2 separate regions of the Homo sapiens genome follow, and region 1 is linked to region 2. Evidence: promoter capture Hi-C in human tissues and cell types (Jung and others, 2019). All regions are on one chromosome and are shown on one strand. The core of a region is centred on a gene start or on the middle of the fragment in contact, and the rest is flanking DNA. Distances in the headings are between cores, read along the strand shown.

What was found. Contacts are between HindIII fragments. The study calls those that stand out against the background at their distance.
Region 1: a contact is called between a fragment that was not itself captured here and the fragment with the promoter of ARHGAP6 in region 2, in 1 of the 25 tissues and cell types used here (pancreas).

Annotation. Positions count from the first base shown.
Region 1 is chrX:11,528,796-11,532,315 of GRCh38, reverse strand. The region is part of intron 1 of ARHGAP6 (Rho GTPase activating protein 6); the gene reads left to right. Among named protein-coding and RNA genes, the nearest start is that of ARHGAP6, 140 kb to the left of the region's middle. The HindIII fragment of the contact is 5,607 bases long and covers 1-3,520 here.
Region 2 is chrX:11,664,071-11,667,565 of GRCh38, reverse strand. It overlaps ARHGAP6 (Rho GTPase activating protein 6), which reads left to right and starts at 1,646. Exons shown (of 13, transcript NM_013427.3): 1 at 1,646-3,325. The coding sequence starts at 2,738. The HindIII fragment of the contact is 7,841 bases long and covers 1-3,495 here.

The sequences.
Region 1 (3,520 bases), core at 245-2,744, 140 kb after region 2:
GATGCCATTTCTTAGCCATGTTCCCTTGGTATTTATCATTACACGCACATGTTCGTGAACATATCCACTTTAAGACCTTGTCTTTAAACTCGGTACGTATGTATAAAGTGATTATGATGAACATAAGAAATGGCATCAGTTAATAATGAATGAATGGAATTGTATTTTTAAAGAAATACCATGAACTGTATTAGAGATTGTGGCTACAGTGTTGTGTGTTCAACAAATCTTTCTCTAACCTCCACCCACATGGTTGAAAACAAAGGAGACTTCGAACCCCAGCTCAGTGTAGCACCAATGCCTCAATAGCATCCTTGGAGCAGAGCTCCTCAAATGAGAATGTGCATGTAATTGTCTGGTAAATATTACCAGCACAATGGGGCCTGAGCTTCAGAATTTTTAATACTGGTTATGCTGATGTTGCTGGACTGTGGAACACACTTTGAGTTGTAAGAATAAGTGTACTGAGCTAATAAGAGAAACCACGTTTCTTCATCTCTGTAATCACCGATAGTTTTGACTGTAATAGCTGGGACCCCAGGCAGCTGTCTGGATTTTGGAGAAAATGAGGATATAAAGGGAATGTGAACTGAAGCTCAAAGCTTGGGATAGCTATGGATTATAATAAATTTTAAAGCAACAACTTGCAAACAAATGGGTATTATGTATCTGATGCAGTTCAGGTTTTAAAAATAAATCTTACAGCCAAAAAAAAAAAGAACCCCCTGTCATTAATCTAGGTTGACAAACATGAAAGAAAAGTTTAGGAAAGAAAGGAAACAGAGAGATGGGGAAGAGGGGTAAGGTGAGTGGGTGGGTGGAGGAATGTCTTAGATTGACTAGAGAAATGGGTTTTGCTTCATGGGATTTTTTCATATTTCCAGGAGAGGGCAGCCAGTCCCCACTCTAAAAACAATGTAAACTTTTACATTTGCATCTACCATTTTCAGAAAGTATTGTGATATACAGTGATTTTTTAAAAAACTTACTTCTGTCCATTCTATTAACCATAATTGGAAGCTCAATATATACGAAGGGCATTAAACTAAGAGTCAAACATCTGAATTTGGAAGGTCCTTTTTCCTAGATCTTAGCAATTCTGTACCTGCAGGCAAGTTGATGAACATCCTAGATTTTTTATATGTAAATTAGATGCAGTAAGACTAGATCCGCCTCCTGGAAGGATGGCAGATAATTAATGAATATTGTTTGTGAAAGCCCTGTATGAATATATTAATTCATTCATCTATCCATTCACTTGTTCAGTCACACATTTAAGCCTTAACGTGTTGCAGTGCTGGATGTCGAAATACAAAATGACCGTCACACAGATTCTGCCTTCAAACAACCTATTGCTAACTGAAGAAAAATAGTATGATTATGCTATAATTGAACTGCAAAGTGACAGTCTAATAAGGCTTGGTAGGAGCACCCTCTACTGACAACCCTGACCTGCTGTCCTTTTCTCCCAGTACTTGGCACTTCACTCATTCCATTCCAGTTACATAGGCCTCCCCCAGCTGTTCCTCAGACTCAACAAGTTCTCTATGTTTTGGGGAATTTGAATTTCGTTTTCTTGCCTGAAGTGTTTTTCCCTTAGTTATCCACATGGCTCATGCTCAAGGATTTTTAAAAAAAGATCTCTGCTCCCTTGTACAATTCTTACAGAGGCCACTCAGAGTACATTATCTAAAATAGCACCTCAGTTACTCTCTATTTCACCCTCTCTCAGTCTGCAAATTAAGATGTCATTCCCTAAGGCATCCATTGTATGCAATGAATTAACTTCTCTCGTATGTATCGAGAATGGTAATAGCTGTGCATCATCCTTGGGAAAATTGAGAATATAGTCTGTCAAAGTACTTTCTGTGTTCTGTGGTTTAGATGAAGATAGCAAGTTGAGTCCGTGTTTTACTTTGCTTTATAACAGTTTTCACTTACCAAACACAATATTATGAATATATTTAATTTGTTTTTCTCTCCTTTCTCACCATTAGAACACAAACTCTAAAAAGGTAGGAACCATGGTTTGTTCAATGTTGTATCTGTAGCACCTACACCACCATGTGCCATCTCCAGCTTGGCATATTGTAGGGTAGGCAATACACTTTTGTTGGATGGATGAGTGTGAATGACGAATGAATGGATGAATGAATGTTGAGAATGCACTCAAGAGGTAACTCTTGATCTGGGTCTTGTAAGATCAGCAGAATTTTCCTTGGTAGATGGGGATGGGAAAGGTATTCAGACACAGTATGGTTTAATGCCACAGTCTTGTAAACTTGAGAGAGCCATATCCAGGTAAGGCAGTGGCTTTCTGAAGTGGCAAATCCATACCTATTGTAGTTTTCCTGATTTTTGTCCTTCTTTGGAGAGTATTATACACTGCATATACATTGTATTATTCACAATATATTTTTGACAGAAATAAGTTGTATTTCCTGAGCAGACACCTCCACTTGTTGATGGCCTGTGTACTAAGGAAAATACAGATTTTAACATTAGCCTAAATACCACATAATTAGAAATTTAATCTACTGGGGAAAATATCATTAAATTTTCATACTGCATATATTACTTTGACTTATCAGAGTTATTCTTCTCTTATTAATAAAAGAACAAGGTGTCAGTTTACTCACTGATTAAAATAATCATATTATTCCATTTCAAGAGCCTATGTTTTCAATAGTGAAATGCATGTTTAATGATCTTTAGATCCATGCTACTCAAAGTATGGTCCCCGGACCAGTGCCAATTCTTAGATAGTCCTTGCAGGTCTGTAAGGATATATGCAAATCAAGCAAGAGTAAACATTTAGAAACTTTTATAGAAATTTGGCACCATAATTTTATATCTATTGAACCTAATTTTTAAAACTGGGCTTGTGTTTCATGTGCTTCCCTCCACCCCTTTTTAGTAATTTATTTTATTTTTATTACATTTTACAAAAGTATGATTCTGCAATGGATTGGAAACAAACAAGCAAACCTTGTCTTTCAATACAGGTCATTTGAGAAACACTGCTCTAGAGCATGATTCGTGCACTGCCTTTAGTCCCACAAAGCCTAAACTATAGGGAACACTGAGAATTTAGCTTGGAGTCGAACTGACCTTAAACCAGGTGACAGTGCCTGTTAATAGTGCTGATAGCTGGCATTTATCAAGCACTTACTATGTTCCAGACATTACACTAAAGACTCGAGAGATTTCCCTTGCAGCAAGGGCCTGAGAAAAGTAAAAGTAGATGGGGGAGAGGGAGATTGTGTGTGTGACATCAGAAGCACACACAGATGTTTCTTGCTCTATCCAACTTCTTTCAGGGATAGAAAGTCTAGAATGACAACCACTCCACTGACAGTTACACTGATTTGACATCCATTTTCTTTTATTTCTGGGTTGGTTTTAGTAATGTTTTGGTAATATAAGCCATTAAGCTTACACATGGGTACAGGAAAGGCTGAGTTTCGGGTTGTTTGTTTATGCATGCATGGATGCCTTGGAGACCTGGTGGAGAACCCAA
Region 2 (3,495 bases), core at 397-2,896:
GTTATCATATGGGGTTAGAGAAATATATAAATCATCAAATACAATCATCAAGTTGCTCACCCCCCTTGAGTTATAAGTGATTCTGTGAAGTGACTCTGTTAACCATCTACCCCGAATGCCAAACTCCACTGAGGCATAACCATGCAATGAGGCATAACCATGCATTCGTATCCCAGTGGTAGAGACATTAAGTGTTTCCATTACCAGTGATAAATTACAGTTTTGTTACTAAAGAAAGGGCAGACAAGACCCACACACTTTTACTTCTAATGTGACTTGTATGAGGAGGGAAGAAAGCCAATGCCAACAAGCCCCCAAATGTAACTTGGCCTGGGTGTAGTTAGGCAGGGGAGCAAGAGCTCTTTTTAAACACTGTGCCTGTCAGCAGCACACCTGATTGACAGCCGCTGAAAATACTTAAGAAGCTCAGGGTGAGAAGAGATGGACAGCGATGGGGGATGGGAAACTAGAATCGAACTCTGTCTTCAGACAGCAGATAGCTCATTAAAGCTACCGGAAAAAAAATCTCTAAGGGTGCAGTCTGTTCGGCTGCGTTTACAAAAAACGAGTACAGCCAAGACCTGGGAGCCCGACGCCCTTTGTGGAGACAACGAATTCTCCTAATTAGATTTCATGACGTACCTCCTCCAAAATAGCTGAACACCTAGGAACACCAAACACGCTTTTCAAAGAGTCTAAGTAAATTAACTTTTCCCCTGAATATGTCATAGGGAATAAAGGAAGTCTTCCAGAATCAAACTTGGACAATTCTGGTAGATATGCAAGAGGAATGTTCGTGTCCAACATCTGTATTTATAATTTCATTGTATTTTTTCTCCAAAATAAAAGAAATGGTAGAGTCACCTTTACATTTATATAAAATTATCTTCATCCCTAAGTGATAAAAGAGGACACAAACACAAAGTAGACATTTCCAACATTCTGTCTGCTCCCTGCTGAGATGGTTGTAAGTTGCATTGCAAAGCTTAACTGTTACATCAAAAAGCCCTCCAAGAGGGCGAGGCTTTGCGCTTTATAGATTCCAGGGGTCCGACAGCGGGAGAAGCTGCTTTCAGACTCATCTCCTTGCCGGGAAGATTGATTTCCCCAGCGTTCTCCAGCTTCCCAGGACTGTGGCCACCGCGCTGAGACCCGAGGCGTCCCAGAGCGGGACGCGGAGACAGATCGCTTTGTGAGCGCCAATCTCTGCAGCCTCTGGGCTGAAGCTGCGCCCGGCGCCTGCCCCCTACCCGGCCTCACTCACCCCTCCTCCTAGAGCACGTTTCCGCACGTGCTCAGGACCCCTTCCACGGCAAAGGCTCCTCCCCCTCCACTTTCTTAGTAGGTCTCCATCTCCAGCTCATTCATCGGCAGCCACTGCTTTTAGACAGTTTCCTATCTATCCTTCCTTTTTAAAAACAAAAACAGCCGGGACAGGGCGGGGTGGGGGGGCGCGGGGAGAAAAGGCAGGAGATTTAACTCCAACTTCAGAGCAATCGTCCCCGGCTGCCCATCTGACACCAGTGGGTGGGGTGCAATCTGACACTTCCCTTCCTTTCCAGAAACGTGAGTGGAGCTGGCGCGACCCTTGATCTGGGGGTGGGGAGACGGGGGAGAAGGTCCGCACTTCCGTCCTCACGACTTTCTCCCCAGGAGACCCGGTATCAGTGGCGAGCTGCCTTCTCTCCTCGCCGCTTGCAGGTTTGGCGCCTGGAAAACTCTTCACGTTCTGCTTTCTCCTGCTCCTGGCTCCGCCCCAGCTCCAGCCCCGGCATTCCTCCAGCTCTACACGTCCTGGCCGCCCCCTTCCCGCTGCCTCTAGAGCGAGCGTACGGGGTCATCTCCGCGTCTGCCCTGGGCCCAAGGCTGGGCTGCGAATAGCGTGTTCCTCTCCGGCGGAACACACACACCCGGCCTTGGGGCTGTCTCCTGAGCTCCCTCCTCCACGGAGAGCGCTGAGCGCCGCCGGGAATTCCATCCCACCGTGGGCACGCAGTCTTTGGAGGTCCCGGGCGCAGCACGCTCGGTGTCCCCACACTGCAGCAAGACAGAGACCCCGCGGGAACCTTGAGCTTGGAACAACCCTTGAGCCTCTGCAGTCGGAAGAGTGGGCGCAGCAGCCCAGCGGAGGCCAGGCGCGCAACCTCGGGCGCCGGGGCAAGGAGAGAGTGCAGGGAGGCGCAGCTCAGGCGCCCGGCTCAGGAGCGGGAGGAAGTTCTCGCGGCGCCGGGAGCGCGGTGGACGCGCCCTGGGCGCACGCCCAGGCAGCCTTCTCCCTGGCCCTCGGGACTGTCCTCGGGCCGCAAGGAGGAGCTTGCTGGAGTCTTAGAGGCCATCCAGAGCCAGCGAGCAGGAGCGCTGCGTCTCCCGCCTCAGCTAGGAAGGGGGAGTGGCGCTGGCAGGCTGGAGCTGGGAACCCAGCGAGCGCCTGACCTTCCTCCTCCTCTTCCTGACCCTCTTCGCGTCTTGGGCTCCGGAGGAAGGTTCTAGCGGCTGCAGGAGGTCCCCAGACCCATTTTCCTAGAAGGCTGGTGATGGATCTGCTGCTCCTGCCGCCGCCGGGGCACTTGGAGCGCACCGGCGGCGCGTGAGCTGGGCTTTGCTCTCCACTGCCCTGGGCAAACCCCGGGCCAGCCCCGCCTGGCACCTTTGCCTGAGTCCCTTTCGGTTCCCGACCCAAAGCCACCAGCGTCCAGGGAGGGAGGAGGAGGTGGTCCTCAGGTGCAGCCCCGCCGAGATGTCCGCGCAGAGCCTGCTCCACAGCGTCTTCTCCTGTTCCTCGCCCGCTTCAAGTAGCGCGGCCTCGGCCAAGGGCTTCTCCAAGAGGAAGCTGCGCCAGACCCGCAGCCTGGACCCGGCCCTGATCGGCGGCTGCGGGAGCGACGAGGCGGGCGCGGAGGGCAGTGCGCGGGGAGCCACGGCGGGCCGCCTCTACTCCCCATCACTCCCAGCCGAGAGTCTCGGCCCTCGCTTGGCGTCCTCTTCCCGGGGTCCGCCCCCCAGGGCCACCAGGCTACCGCCTCCTGGACCTCTTTGCTCGTCCTTCTCCACACCCAGCACCCCGCAGGAGAAGTCACCATCCGGCAGCTTTCACTTTGACTATGAGGTTCCCCTGGGTCGCGGCGGCCTCAAGAAGAGCATGGCCTGGGACCTGCCTTCTGTCCTGGCCGGGCCAGCCAGTAGCCGAAGCGCTTCCAGCATCCTCTGTTCATCCGGGGGAGGCCCCAATGGCATCTTCGCTTCTCCTAGGAGGTGGCTCCAGCAGAGGAAGTTCCAGTCCCCACCCGACAGTCGCGGGCACCCCTACGTCGTGTGGAAATCCGAGGTAGGGACCAGCGCTGCGCGTCCCACGGCCCAAGGAGGAGGCCCCCAGGCAGTTTCAGGAGACCGCCTTTAATTCCATTACATTTACAGAGCAAGGCACCCACTAAGGGGTTTCCGTGGTGTGGGTTTTCCTCTTCTACTTGCTAAATGGTGCCTGGAAATGGGATGTCC